2 separate regions of the Homo sapiens genome follow, and region 2 is linked to region 1. Evidence: promoter capture Hi-C in 16 types of primary human blood cells and fetal thymus (Javierre and others, 2016). All regions are on one chromosome and are shown on one strand. Each heading gives the region's core, a stretch centred on a gene start or on the middle of the fragment in contact. The rest is flanking DNA. Distances are from core to core; before and after follow the strand shown.

Region 1 (7,500 bases), core at 102-2,601:
CGCCCACGCCCGCATCCAGCCCTCAGCGTGCGCAGGCCGACCCACGCCCCACGACACTTGTCCCGACGCACCAGCTTCGCTGCCGGCTCCCCTCCTGGAGACGCATCTACCTTCTCTCCATGGGGCCCCCGACACCTCCGCCAACCCGCGCTCTGAGCCAGCTCAACCTCCCCTGGGCGTCAAGAGCCTGGAGCGCCCACCCTCCTGCCCTCTCCCCGCTGCCTCTCAGATCCCGGCAGCGCTGCAAGAGTCTACAAGAGCTCGTTAGTTGCAGGCAGGAGGAACGCGGGCGAGTGGAGAGGCGCCTTGCGAAAGGATTTAACGTCGGGGCTCCGGGAGAGTTGGTAAGAAAGGATGAGGATGATGATCTATCTGCCTTCAACTCTTCGAAAGCGGATCAAATCTTCCAATCCCGATTTTGGAACCTCGGGGCTGTTTCCCGAAGTACTAAAGACAGAGGGACGAGGGTATGAGAGCGGCGCCCTCTCCTCTCGCCTGCACGCCCCTCCACAAATGAGCCCTGGCTCCCCTCTGTACCCTCCAAACTTCCCTCTCCCATGCTCACCCCGTGAGCCGCCCTCGCGGCGGGGTTGGGGGCGCAGCCCCAGACCGCTGTGGGGTCCCCAGGCGTGGGAGAGCCGGCGCGGCCCGGGTCCGGGGTGCTGGTTGCTGCTGGCCCAGGGGAGTGCTTCTCCGGGTCTGCGCAGGTGGCTGGACACGCCGCGACTGCTGCGCGCGGGACGGCCTCCTGGCCTCCGCCTCGGTGGGCCTCCTGGGGCTCCCCCAGCCCGGCTGGGCCCGCTCCACGGGCTGCAAGCCCGCGACAGGCGCGTCCTGCTCCCGGAACAGACTGTACACCTTGGCTGCAGCCGCTGCCGGGTAGCTGCCCCCAGGGCGCCGCAGTCGATTCGCGTCTCCACCAGCCGGCTCGTATCTCCCTACGGGGTCCCTTTGGGCATGACCCGCGCCCACGAAGAGAGCCAGGGTGAGCGGCAGGAAGCCTCTCCAGGGGTTCCGCAGGGCGCGCCCCGGGCTGCGGGCTTTGGTCCGCGGCCTCATGGCGCGGGGCGGCTGGAGAGTGGTGCGCGCGGGCACCGCGAAGAGCTTTGTGGTCGGCACGCTGGACGCCCGCGGGCTGTTCTCCCGGCCCCGCCCGGCGGCCAGCTTCTCTGAGTCTAGGGGGCCCTGAAGCGGCCGACTGGGGGCCCGGCTCTCGGCGGAACGAGGGCTGCGCGCCCCGAGCCTCGAGTCCGCGCTCCTACTCCAGCTGGGCTCGCACGGCTGCTGCACCTTCGCGCCTCCTCCCTGTGCCTGCAGCCGTCTGAAGGGGACCCGGACGGTTTTATTTTTGGAAACCTCCCCCGGCTTTTTCGTCTCTTTTATCCACACCAGGCCCCCTCCTCGGAGGGACAGCTCAGCCCCCTCATTACCGGAGAGGGAGCGAGGAATTCCAGCAACACCCACTTTGGCACCGGGAAGCCAGCGGGCGGCGAGCGGGCGGCGAGGGGGATTAACCCGTGCGGAGCAGGGGGCGGCGCGGGGCTGACCCAGGCGCTGGTCGGGCAGATGGCGCCTGCCACGACCGGGACACTGGGCCGCCTTTCTCCTGCTCTGGGCAAGTTCGAACTGCAGACCTGCCCCGAATCGTTCTCCCGCCCCTCGCCTCAGGGACCGTCTTTGGATCGGGGGACCCAGGCTGCAGCCTTGCAGGTCTGAAGGAAGCCGGGAGGGGCGCCGAGGCCCGCGTAGGGGAACAGGGCCGCCGCCCCCTCCGCTTGCGCCCTGGCCGCTGGGGGCGCCCTCCGCAGGGCCGGCCGGAGCGGGGGTGGCGCGGGGCGGGGCGCGGCGCGCGGAGCGCAGGGAGGTCCCGGGCGCGCCCCCTGGCGGAGCTGGCGGCCCTGGCGCTCCGTGGCTGCAATGCCCTGGCGCCGCCGCCTTCGCTCTGGATCTCAATCCCCTTCCACTGGCGTGAGGGTCACGCCTGAGCCTGGCGCGGTGATGGCTGCCGGTAGAAGAGGGGTCCTCTTTTTCTTTTTCTTTTTCTTTTCTTTCTTTCTTTCTTTCTTTTTTTTGAGACGGAGTTTCGCTCTTGTTGCCCAGGCTGGAGTGCAATGGTGCGATCTCAGCTCCCCGCAACCTCCGCCTCCCGGGTTCAAGCGATTCCCCTGCCTCAGCCTCCCTAGTAGCTGGGATTACAGGCATGCGCCACCAAGTCTGACTAATTTTGTATATTATTTTATTTTTTAGTACAGACGGGGTTTCTCCATGTTGGTCAGGCTGGTCTCGAACTCCCAACCTCAGGTGATCCGCCCGCCTCGGCCTCCCAAAGTGCTGGGATTAAAGGCGTGAGCCACCACGCCCGGCCAAGGGGTCCTCTTTTTCACCGAGGCAAAGACACGGAGCCTCTTGAGTAAGTCACTCAAGGAGATAGCGCATGTGAAAGAGGGGAGTGGAATCTAGGCCTCCCGCCTCTGGCTGAATCCATTCCCGGGATCCCACCCAGCCCTTCACTCTCTCGGGAATTTCCCAGAGGGGGATTCGGTGACCCCGATTGACCCAGTGTGTGCATTCACATCTTGTGTTAGCAGGGAGGCGGGCAGGGGTGTGGGAATGCTGACTGCCGCTGTCTGCGTGTCCCCAGTAATCAGCACACCATTCTCACCCATGCTCCCTCCCTACAGCCTAAAGGCTTGGATCAACAGGGCTGCCCCTGGCACATTTGTACAGCCTATTTCCCAGAGAGGCAGAGTGAAGGAGCTGGCATGTGGGCACCAGTTCACAACCTCCCACACCACACAAAAGACAAGCCCAGGTAATATCTACTGTTGAAATAAAGCCTCGACCCCTGGCCTTGGCCTACAAACCCTAGCTGGCTGCCCCCGCTCTGATTTCATCTGGCCTCTTGCTCTCCCTTACCCACCACACTGTGCTGCCTTGGCCCTCTCTCTGCTCCTTGAACAAGCCAAGTGAATGCCCCCTTCCCTCTACTGGAAGGTTCCTCTCCAGGATGTTAGAGGGTAGTTCCTCATCACTGCTCCTCTCAGATTAAATATCAGCTCCTGGAGTAGCCATCCCTGACCTCCAATCTAGAGCAGCCCTCCCTCACCCCAGTCATGACTCTAACACACCACCCTGTTTCATCTTCATAAAACAGTTGACATCATCTTGTTATTGATTTGTTTGCTCGTGTAACTGAATTTTTTAATGGGCTGAACCTAAAGAGGGACTATCCAGAAACTGCTCCACTACTACCTTCAACCATATTATGGTAAATTTCCCTTTCCCACCCTTAATGACATCTCAGGCAGAGTCCTTGGCTTGAGAGGTCATCCCTACCAGACACGAGAACTATTCTATTAATATAATTAAGACCCATTTTCAGACACAAAAAGTCTGCTCCTGTCCAGATCAAAATCTCATCCAAGTTAATCAATATCACATCCCATTTAATAGTCCTCCTCTCCCCTGTCCCTTTGCTAGAGATCCTGCAGTGGTGAGAGTGGGGTGTGGTCTGTTTTCCTGACCTCCCTTTTCTGCTGTGGCTCCTCTTTGTCAAGGCTGGGAGAGAGGTGTTAGAGGAAAAGTAGCAAAGTCTTATGTGACAGGTACCCTTGGTTGGCAGGTGCCAAGCGCTGGCTTTTTCATGGGCACATATGTGGGTTTTTGGGAGGTTCTCTACAGGACCTCCACCCTGAGTTGCCATAGCAAATTACTCTCTGGCCAACCTCTCGGAGACCCCTGCATCCTCTGTCTCTCATAGGACTGTCCCACCTATGCCAGGCAAAACAATGGTGGGTTGGCCGCTCCTCACCCTGCCCACTTCTCACCTTGCCACACAGGCCACTCCAGCGAGGCTCCACGATCAGAATTCTCCAGACAGGAAGTGCACACAAGTCTCTTCATTTATGTACGTCCTCAATTCCTAAAGACATATGTTGGGTTCTCCCATGAACTGTCTTGCTGTAGTTTAATGCACCGAGGTGCCTGTAACATCCAGCAACATAGTCAGCATCAGTGGGGGGACAGTTATAGGGACAGAGCCTCCTCTTCTTGCAGATGACTGGTTCTCTCTGGGAGCTCCCTTCATTTGGTTTGAGTTGGGGAGTTCCCTCAGGGGAAATCTCAGCCCTGCCCACAAATGCAGCAGTGTTATGCTTCAGTGACTTTCTTCAATCCCTTTCATTTGTAGACTGGAATTGAGGGATGTAGTTTGATTGCTGTTGAACCTGTTCTGCCTTTAGTAAGGTGTCTAGTACTTCTCTTCAGAATGCAAGAATATTTAGCCCTCATTGTTCTATCTTTGTGGCTTCAGCAGATATTCCAAGAGCAGAGGAAAAGTCCTATTCAACAACCTATAAAATCATTTCTTGTCTGACTTCCCAAACCACAATGACAGCTCTAAAGCAACAGATATCTTGTCTGCGTTGCTCACCACTGTTTCTGCAGAACCTAGAACAGCCAAGAAGTATGTGTGAAATGGATAGCTAACTGAATGAAGGACACAGTAATCCCATCAAGTGGGGAGGGCTGGTATCATTAGACCCATTTTAAGAGAGAGGAACTGAGTTCTGGGTGGCAGCTCCTGATCCAGGTTCATGTGCTTGCTGCCTTTGGGGCTGGCTCTAAAGATCTCCTTGAACCCTACCCCTTGCATTTGACCATGAATGCCCCTTAGTTCCCAGAATGCTGCGTTCTGTTCCTGGGATGCTGCTCCTTCACAGCTGTGGAAGCCCCAGGTCCACACTTACCTCTCCTTGCCCAGATATCCACCCACCTCTGTAGTTCTGGGCTCCCTTCCTCTCCCCGGAACCTACCCACTTCCTTCAGAAGCTCCCCTCTAGATCCCTCAAGACCCACCTCAGATCCCCGTGGGCCTCCAAAAGCCAGAAACCTTGGCATCATCTTCGTCCCTGAGCTATTTTTTCCTCCTGTGTGTCCAAGTCATTATTACTGCTCCGTCTCCTCCGTCTGCATTTCTGGAAGTCTGCCGCCCATTCATCCCTCACCCTTCGCCTCCGCCAAAACCCTCACGCAGACCAACTTTCCCTCACCATCGGGCGCCCCTTCCACTCCTCAGTGAGTACAAGTGGTCCTTGGACGTTCCCACCCTGTTCGCCTGGGGACCATAACCCAGTTCATCTACTCCAAAGACTGGCATCTTCTACCCCATCCCGGCGCCACACTCTGTCCTGCCACCTACTTACTGCCCATATCTCCCTTACCCTCTAACTGCTGGGACTGATTGCAGCTCTTCAGAATCTCCAATCCCACAAACACTTGAGTTTTGCTTTTTTTTTTTAACCTGCCAAAATCGATAGAGCCTACTTTAGTCCAAACGCCATACTAAGCATGTTACATCAATTGGCTGATTTAACCAACCAAAGGAGGCATTATGATTTCCACGCATACAAAGGAGGAAACTGAGGTTGGCAATGGCTACTGGCTTGCCCAAGATGGCACAGCTGATAAATAGCAGAGGCAGGATTCAAACCTGGATCATTTTCCACCTGAGCCCAAGCTTTTAAGGTTACACCGCCTTGCCTCCACCCCGGGCTTGTAAGCCTGGAGCCCTCTTCACAATTGAATCATGACCTTTCCAACCACCCCACCACTATCACCACCAAAGGAGCTCTAGGGCATATCCCCAAATGCCCTCTTCCCTGCCTGCCAGCCCACTGTTCATGTACCTGGAGCTCATGTACCTGGAGATGTGGAGTTATCAGAACTTTCTGCCACCCTTAATCCTCTTGGCCCAGTGAAAGAAGGGAAGCTGTTTCAGCATGGCCGCTGACTCACCGTGTGTCACTTCCCCACCCCCTGATTAAAGCCTTCTCCCTCATTAGATCGCTGCTAAGCCTACTCACCCATCTCTTGGGTCTGGAGAGGAAAATCATCTCTGGAAAACCCGGCAGAGAGAGTCTAAAGGGTTGATAAAGAGATTCCAGCAGGGAAAGGTTTGCCCAGACACATGCCCCATGCAAGGGACAGCAGTCTCCTGGACTCCCAGGGCAAACTCACTGCTTTTCCATGTCTCACTGGAATAATGTTGGCAGCCAGAGGTCTACCAGAACCTGAGCTAATTTGGTAAATAAGGACCAAAAACAAGGGCCACATTTCGGCCCCCTTTGCTGAGACCCAGACTCCTGAAAGAATTCCAGGGATTTTTCTTGCTTGGAAGTAACTGGACCTCCAGCCCTGAATTCCTCTCCCCAGGAGAGCTTGTTCCCCTGCTCAGAACAAATAACACATTTCCTGGTTAATCAGAGGGCAGAATCGCTGAAGGAAAGTTTGACTGGGCCCCCAGCCTTCCAGACGGGAGCCGCTCATGGGCTTGGATGTTCTGCTCCAGACACTGGGCAGCTGGGACCCCAGCACTGCGCAGCCTCAGCCTCCAGTTTGGAAGGTGCAGGCCGTACAGAGAGGTGCCGACTCCCTCCTGTGTGAGGTTGTTAAGGCCCGCAAAGGCTGCCAGAACCATTCCACCTTAGGTGCCATGACCTGGCGTCCCCTCAAGAATTCACAACCACCCTGCCCTGGTCTGCCGGTGCCTGTCTCCTCCAAGTGGGTATGACATGCTGGCTGGTGGTGATAGCCATGGTATGGATGTTCCTGCAAAGGTAAGGTGAGCTGGCCTGTATTTCAGAGTGTGCTGGAAAGGGCCCTCCCACAAACATGTGGTGAACATTTACGTCTTCTGTGAGCGGAGCACAGTTCTGAGCTCATTTCCGTCTTCTGTGAATGCAGCACAGTTCTGAGCTTCATTTGGCTTCTACTTTCTTATCTGAAAGTTGAGATAATGATGTTCTTTTTGCCATTTTTCTCTTCAGGACAAACTAGCTAGCCAGCCCTGTTTACCCTGTCATGGGGCTAGGGGCAGGTGTCAATTACTACTCCTCCATTTACCAACTGATATTTCATTTATTGTTTGTTTGTTTGTTTGAGACAGGGTCTCACTCTGTCACCCAGGCTGGAGTGCAGTGGCACAATCTCGGCTCACTGCAGCATCCACCTCCTGGGTTCAAGCAATCCTCCAGCTTCAGCCCCCCAAGTAGCTGGGACTGTAGGTGCACGCCACCAAGCCTGGCTAATTTGTATTTTTTGTAGAGACGGGGTTTTGCCATTTTGCCCAGGCTGGTCTTGAACCCCTGGACTCAAGTGATCCTCCCGTCTCGGCCTCCTAAAGTGTTGGGATTATAGGTGTGAGCCACCACATCCAGCCTTGGTATTTCTTGAGCACTCAGAAGGTACCAGGCACTGTGCCAAGTCATCTTATAGTCACTTCCTTGTTTAATGAGAAGCGCTATTGATGAAGGAAGTGCTATTATTTCCCCACATAGCAGATGAGGAAATGAAGGCTCGGGGAAGTAAATGACTCATCCACAGTCACAAGCCAGTAGGTGGCTGCGCTGGGATTCACTCCTGGTTTGTCTGGTCCCAGATGCTAAACCAATGCCAGCTTCCAGGGGAAGGGAGACCACCGACAGCTGCATTTTTCTCAGA
Region 2 (7,500 bases), core at 3,137-5,636, 96 kb after region 1:
GTTTATTTTGCCAAGGTTGAAGACATACGCCCAGGACACGGCCTCATGAGGTCCTGACGACATGTGCCCAAGGTGGTTGGGGCACAGCTTGCTTTTATACATTTTAGGGAGACTTGAGACATCAATCAAGATGTATACTGGCTCAGTCCAGAAAGGCGGGACAACTTGGAGTAGGGAGGGGGGCTTCCAGGTGAGAAAAATGGTTGCATTATTTTGAGTTTCTGATTAGCCCTTCCAAAGAAGGCAATCAGATATGCATCTATCTCGGTAGGCAGGGGATGACTCTGAACAGAATGAGACACAGATTTGCCCTAAGCAGTTCCCAGCTTTACTTTTCCCTTTAGCTTAGTGATTTGGGGGCCCCAAGACTTATTTTCCTTTCACATAAATATAAGTCCTTTATTAGATAAACATTTTGCAAATATTTTCTGTGGCTTGCCTCTTCATTTTCTTAACAGAAAATACACTTTTTAAAGAGTACAAGTTTCTAACTTTGATGAAAGCCAACATAAATTTTTTCTTCATAGTTTGTGGTTTTTGTGTTCTATTTTTTAAAACTCTGCCTAGCTCAAGGTCACAAAGATTTTCTCCTGGTTTTTTTCTAGAGGGTTATCTAAACGTTTCACAAGAGAAAATCCTCTCGTCAAATTTTTTAACAAGAACTTTTTAAAACTCCTGCATTCCATTTATCTCATAGTCATTAAGTTTTATTCCCCTTGTTTCTTTCAAATTCAATGCTGCACATTACCATGCACTATTTAAGTTACAGTCTTCTGTTGTTTTTTTTTTTTTGAGACGGAGTTTCGCTCTTGTTGCCCAGGCTGGAGTGCAATGGCACCATCTCGGCTCACCGCAACCTCCACCTTCCAGGTTCAAGCGATTCTCCTGCCTCGGCCTCCCAAGTAGCTGGGATTATAGGCATGCGTCACCACGCCCAGCTAATTTTGTATTTTTAGTAGAGACGGGGTTTCTCCATGTTGGTCAGGCTGGTCTCGAACTCCCGACCTCAGGTGATTCGCCCACCTCAGCCTCCCTAAGTGCTGGGATTACAGGCGTGAGCCACCATGCCTGGCCCCAGTTATAGTCTATTTCTGAATTTGGAAAGATTTTAATATTTTAACAGATTTTTCCTCTCTTCAATCTAGTAAATGGAATGCTTAAGTTTAGCCAAGGTTTTAGTCCCTCACTTCTCTCCAAATCCACATAAGACCTCTGCACCCCTGATACTGGTTCTTAAAACAACAACTAAATTCCACAACCCAGAACATGCACCTTGAAGTTAAGCCAGGGACAATAAACTAGTTACCCTTCTGGCTTTAACGAGAGTCTTTTATAAGATCATGCCCACCTTACTGAGTCACTCTAACCTGTGATGAGACTGGAAAATGTTGTCCTATAATCACTCACTGGTTAAATTAAAATTTAGGCTTATAAAGGTTAAGCTAACCAAGACAAAAGTAATTCTGCATTTCTTAATTCAGTTTGGATTCTCTCTATTGCACCATTCTCTCTAAAACAAGCCAGAGTTCTTCAGACCCGTATTTCTTTTTGTATAGTATACACAAAGGCATAGCTTAGATTCAGCTGTCCCTGGAGTTGTTTGCCATTCATTCTCAGCACAGTTTAGAGAAAGCAGGAAAAAGGGATTCAAAGCTAATGTTGAGTATAACAGGGAAAACAAGAAGTGAGAATTTACCATTGCTCATTTTGTAACCTCATGGGGAGAAAAACAAAAGAGAAAACTGGCTCATCCATGTCACTGTCCCATTCTTAACCCTAAATCTAGAAAATACTAGCTTCAGTTTCCTCTTCCCTCCTATCTTGATGTGTTTTCTATATACAAAACTGACTCTGCTATGCCTGAGCCACAGAGGACAGGCCCCCATGTTCCCATCTCATGGCAGCTTTTATGCTTAGGTGACTTTGGACCACTGAATCTTGGCTATAACAGGAAGATTTTAAAAGTAATTCTTTGAACCTGACAAGCCGTCTCCCTCAATAAGTCTAGGAAGCTATTATTCCATTAACTGCGCCTGAAGTGGCAGGCACACAGCCAGATCTGCAGCCCAGTCGGGTGGAACTGGAATGGTCACACGTATACTTAAAAGCTAACTCTGCCTCTACTACCATCCATTACTTTCAATTCTGTGCTTATTTTTAAGGAAAATAAATTATTTATATAATTGAAAGGAAAAACAATGTTAATTAAATGAGCATTTTGTAGTTAAGATTCCAAGAAGAAAAACTCAACTAGCCACAGAAATGGCACCCTAAGATAGCTGGATTTGAAGGAGAAACTCAACACTTACCTATTCAAAACAAAATTTCTGTTGACCTAATAATCAGTTTTACCAAAGAAAGGTCTATTAATTTCTTCAAATGCATATTAAGAAGCGACCACATGCCAAGCAATATGTTGGACCCTAAAGATTCCAGAATGAGTAAAATATTCTCAACACTTTAGAAACATAAAAGCTTAGTAAAGAAGACAGACAAATAAATAATTACGTAGTTATACTTCCGTGTAGTAAAATCTATGAGGTGAGCATAGAGGGTATGGATGGATACCTTAATCAAGATCAGCTCTTAGCTTCTCAGGAAAGTTCACATCACCCTCCTGGAAGCAAAGTCAACTCTTCCATAGAGTTAACAATGCTTTGGGGGTCAAGGAATACAAAACACTACCTATGAAGTATTACTTATTCTCAGGGTCAATGACTCTCTTCAACACTCGTCAGAGGGGATTCTTGGACCACATACATAGCACAGAAAAAGCACTCACTGGAAATACCAACTTATTTATCAAAATTATACACGATCTGGTCGGGCACAGTGACTCATGCCTATAATCCCAGCACTTTGGGAGGCCGAGGCGGGCAGATCACCTGAGGTCAGAATTTCGAGACCAGCCTGGCCAACATGGTGAAATCCCATCTCTACTAAAAATACAAAAATTAGCCAGGCGTGGTGGCAGGCGCCTGTAATCCCAGCTACTCGGGAGGCTGAGGCCGGAGAATAGTTTGAACCCAGGAGGCAGAAGTGGCAGTGAGCCAAAATGGTGCCATTGCACTCCAGCCTGGGTGACAAGAGCGAAACTCCATTTTAAAAAAAAAAGAGGCCGGGCACAGTGGATCACACCGGTAATCCCAGCACTTTGGGAGGCCAAGGTGGGCGGATTACGAGGTCAGGAGATCGAGACCACCCTGGCTAAAATGGTGAAATCCCATCTCTACTAAAAATACAAAAAATGGCCGGGCACAGTGGCTCACACCTGTAATCCCAGCACTTTGGGAGGCCCAGGCAGGTGGGTCACAAGGTCAGGAGATCGAGACCTTCCTGGCTAACATGTGAAACCCCGTCTCTACTAAAAATACAAAAAATTAGCTGGGTGTGGTGGTGGGCGCCTGTAGTCCCAGCTACTTGGGAGGCTGAGGCAGGAGAAAGGTGTGAACCCAGGAGGCGGAGCTTGCAGTGAGCCGAGATCGCGCCACTGCACTCCAGCCTGGGCGACAGAGTGAGATTCGTCTCAAAAAAAAAAAAAAATTAGACGGGTATGGTGGCGGGCGCCTATAGTCCCAGCTACTTGGGAGGCTGAGGCGGGAGAATGGCGTGAACCCGGGAGGCGGAGCTTGCAGTGAGCCGAGATGGCGCCACTGCACTCCAGCCTGGGCGACAGAGTGAGACCTTCGCCTCAGAAAAAAAAAAAAAAAAAGAAATTACACATGATCTAACTGGAATGTGGTATTCTAGATTCAGTTTGGGTATAGAAAAAGGAAATTAGTGGAGAAACTTGTGAAATCCAAATAAAGTCTATAGTTTAGTAATAGTATTGTACCAATGTTAATTTCTTAGATGTGACAGTATGTGCCATGGTTATGTAAGAAGTTAACATTAGGAGACACCGGTGAAAGGTATACAGGAATACTCTGTACTATCTTTGCAACTTTTTTATAAATTTAAAATTATTCCACAATTTAAAACAATTTAATTACAGATGGTGCTCCCCTTTACATTCTCACTCCCCCTTAGAATTCTAATCATGTCTCCCTAATCATTGCCCCAATTCAGGTAATGCCAGCCTAAAACTTTTTAAATATCTTTTTTAACCCCTTTCTATGAACTGTTTGCACAGCCCACCTGGGATTTCTTCTTTACCAAGACATGAAAAACTAGATCACACTTGGGAAGTTTTAACTGTTTTCTGTTCCTAATAGGTTTACCATATATACCGGGGGTACCTTGAATTTGAACTTCCCAAAGCGGACAAGAGAGGGGTTAAAATAACATGCTCTGGGTCTCTGGATAAAAGCAAGGGGACATTACAGAAAATATGTTGTATATTAATAAATTATCTAATCTCTGGCCAAAAAGTACAATATATAGAAAATCAATTAACAGATGTTAACTATTGGCATCTCAACAGTAACAAGCTGCACTGAAATAAATGCCTTCGCTCTGAAAAACATGATGCAAATTGCTCAACTATTCAAGATAACAAAAACTCATAAAATCATATGGAACCGTTCAATTAGACTAAATGACAAAACATGTATCTACCATGACTATTTAGTTTCTAATAGCTAAGTGAATACCCATCTTTCTCTATAAACCCTATCTTGTAGAACAGTCTTCAAAAGAGCCACCAGGAAAACATCACTATGGTGCTGTAACACCATATCAACAGCTCAGGCATGCGTGTGTGTACACACACATACATACACACAAACTGCAATAAGGTTAAACAACCTCAAAAGTTTGAAAACTACTATATGAAAGAACATTAGTGAAGGCTAAGCATTCAGAACCCTTCAAAGAAAAAGAAACCAAAGAAAAATAACTGAAATTTAAACCCAAGTTAGTTAATAGCTAAAGTCATTTAAAAGGTAAAACGGTCAGGCACAGTGGCTCATGCCTCTTCTCCCAGCTACTCAGGAAGCTGAGGTGGGAGGATGGCTTGAGGCCAGGAGTTCAAGATCAGCCTGGGCAACATAGCAAGATCTAATAAATAATAAATAAAAGGTAAAATGATACACTAGAGTCCATTAAGGTCATAAAATCTGATCTATTACATGGTACTAATATGTTGATAGTATTAAATAAATATTACACAACAGTACTCTGACCTGGACCACTTACAGAAAGATGAACAAGAAGAGTAATTCCTCTAAAATATTTCAACTCCCACATCTCTATTCAGCCACCAACCATACTTTACCTATTTACAAGTCTTTCTGTAATACAGGACTGTGGTGAGATTGCCCAGGACAGAATGGGCCCTCAATAAATGCTTTCTGAATGAATGACCAAGCGGCAGTAATCTATCTCTGAGGTATTCTTACAAACCAATTCAATATCAAGACCTCAGAAGCAGAACATGCTGTATGCCATGCTACCACATTTAGGGGCAGGCAAGTTAATTGAAAAATAATTAACAGCGACTAATGTTTGTTGGGAGAAAAAAAGTCCTATCATGTAAGTCAGAAAAATAAATGTAAAAACTATAACTTGAAAATGGACAAAAAAGTGAATCTACTTATAACTTTCTAACATTGAAATACAAGATGTTCTTTAAGGAGTCTTTCATTATCCAGAATAATTTTACAAAGAAATTTGATACCAACTTAAATTAGTAAGTTAGACCAATTAGTGAATGGAATGAAGTCCAAGCCCAATTATGTGTTCAAACTGTGTGTCCAATGCCTTGGGTGATTTTTTCTCTTCAAGACTGCAGAAAAATGCAAAACAACCCTCTTGACTGCTGAGAAGGACTAAAATCATTTCTTTTCCTCACAAGTATGTGCCCAAAAGCAATTACTTTCTGCTCCCATCCATCACAAATCAACACTACCTCCCAGCTTCGCATCCCCCACTTTCCATCCCCATCAAAGAATGCTGTAGAGTATCTGACCACTTTCATTTCACGCTATAAGAACCTCAGATTGCAATAAAATTACAATGCAACAAAAACAAATTTTTCTAAGTATGTTCTTATCCCCCATGGTGTTCCTACACTAATTTAGCTCCCTATTAGGTATTAACAATCAAGGAAATCAGAACACTCTCAATAGAGGTTACAATAGAAATTACAAATGGCCTTTTTTTAAGTTGTTGTTGTTCATGGATTCCAAAATTCAAAGTACACATTACCAGAAGAGCGTTTTTCTGTCAGTGCCTAAATTTAAATGCAAATTACTATTTAATGATATGCAATTTTCCCTCTGAACCTATATATAATACTAATGAGTCAAATGTTTAAGAAGAATAACTGACCATGTTATTTTAGCTTTTAGACAATAAAAAGCTTATTGTCTAATCACCAAGAGATACATCAAAAAACTGGTTGCTATTAGCTCTACACATGAATGGCAGCTTGACAGAGACAAGCTGCTCCAGAAAGATTAGGAACTTCTAGTGACCACAAATGGGGTAAAGCAGAAGGCACATACAGTATCTGTAGCTACCATTTCTACATCAAAAATTCAGTGCCCACAGATATGTAAACTATTAAGCCATCTAAATGAATGTGTGCCTGAAAGAGAAAGGAGAAGCAGAAAAAGTTTACACCCAAATCAACAGAAGAAATCACCCTGCGATTGAGCATCCCAGGACCTGAAAACTTAATGTTTTGAGGTTTATGAACACGTTCAAGTTCCAGTGCAACTATGTTAAAATAAAATTGGGCTGGTGCCAGGCACGGTGGCTCACGCCTGTAATCCCAGCACTTTGGGAGGCCAAGGTGGGCGGATCACCTGAGGTCGGGAGTTCAAGACCAGTCTGACCAACATGGAGAAACCCCGTCTCTACTAAAAATATAAAATCAGCCAGGCGTGTTGGCGCACGCCTGTAATCCCAGCTACTCAGGAGGCTGAGGCAGGAGAATCGCTTAAACCTGGGAGGTGGAGGTTGCAGTGAGCCGAGATTGCGCCATTGCACTCCAGCCTGGGTAACAAGAGCGAAACTAACTCCGTCTCAAAAAAAAAAAAAAAAAATTGGGGCTTGGCACAGTGGCTCACGTCTGTAATCCCAGAACTTTGGGAGGCCGAGGTGGGCAGATCACCTGAGGTCAGGAGTTTGAGACCAGCCTTGCCAACATGGTGAAACCCATCTCTATTAAAAATACAAAAATTAGCAAGGTATGGTGGCACACACATGCCTGCAGTCCCAGCTACTCGGGAGGCTGAGGCAGGAGAATTGCTTGAACCTGGGAGGGGGAGGTTGCTGTGAGCCGAGATTGCGCCACTGCACTCCAACCTGGGCAGCAGAGGGAGGCTCTGTCTCAAAAATAAAATAAAATAAAATAAAATAAAATTGGCATAAAATTCCAACCCTGCCACACATCCTCAAGTTGGAAGACACACAATGGTAACAACAGAAAACACTCTGAGTAGTCTGGTTTACACTCTTCTAGGGACCTCGCATGTTAACTATGAATAAACATAAGTCCTGATAACATCCCAATAAAAGAGTGCTACTATGATTATCTCCATTTTACAGATAAAG

The links. The method cuts DNA at HindIII sites, captures the fragments that hold promoters and counts their contacts. A CHiCAGO score of 5 or more calls a contact.
Region 2: a fragment that was not itself captured here is called in contact with the fragment with the promoter of LTBP2 in region 1 in 2 of 17 cell types (endothelial precursors and total CD8 T cells); the score reaches 5.3 in endothelial precursors.

The regions. Positions count from the first base shown.
Region 1 is chr14:74,610,886-74,618,385 of GRCh38, forward strand. LTBP2 (latent transforming growth factor beta binding protein 2) reads right to left here and starts at 1,352. Exons shown (of 36, transcript NM_000428.3): 1 at 566-1,352. The coding sequence starts at 1,059. It overlaps LOC101928352 (a long non-coding RNA gene), which reads left to right and starts at 2,300. Exons shown (of 2, transcript XR_944029.4): 1 at 2,300-2,410; 2 at 2,682-3,163. RefSeq lists enhancers at 1,408-2,035, 6,644-7,500 and a silencer at 1,663-1,982. The HindIII fragment of the contact is 11,176 bases long and covers 1-5,516 here.
Region 2 is chr14:74,704,265-74,711,764 of GRCh38, forward strand. All of the region lies in intron 1 of AREL1 (apoptosis resistant E3 ubiquitin protein ligase 1), which reads right to left. Among named protein-coding and RNA genes, the nearest start is that of AREL1, 5.1 kb to the right of the region's middle. The HindIII fragment of the contact is 3,826 bases long and covers 2,474-6,299 here.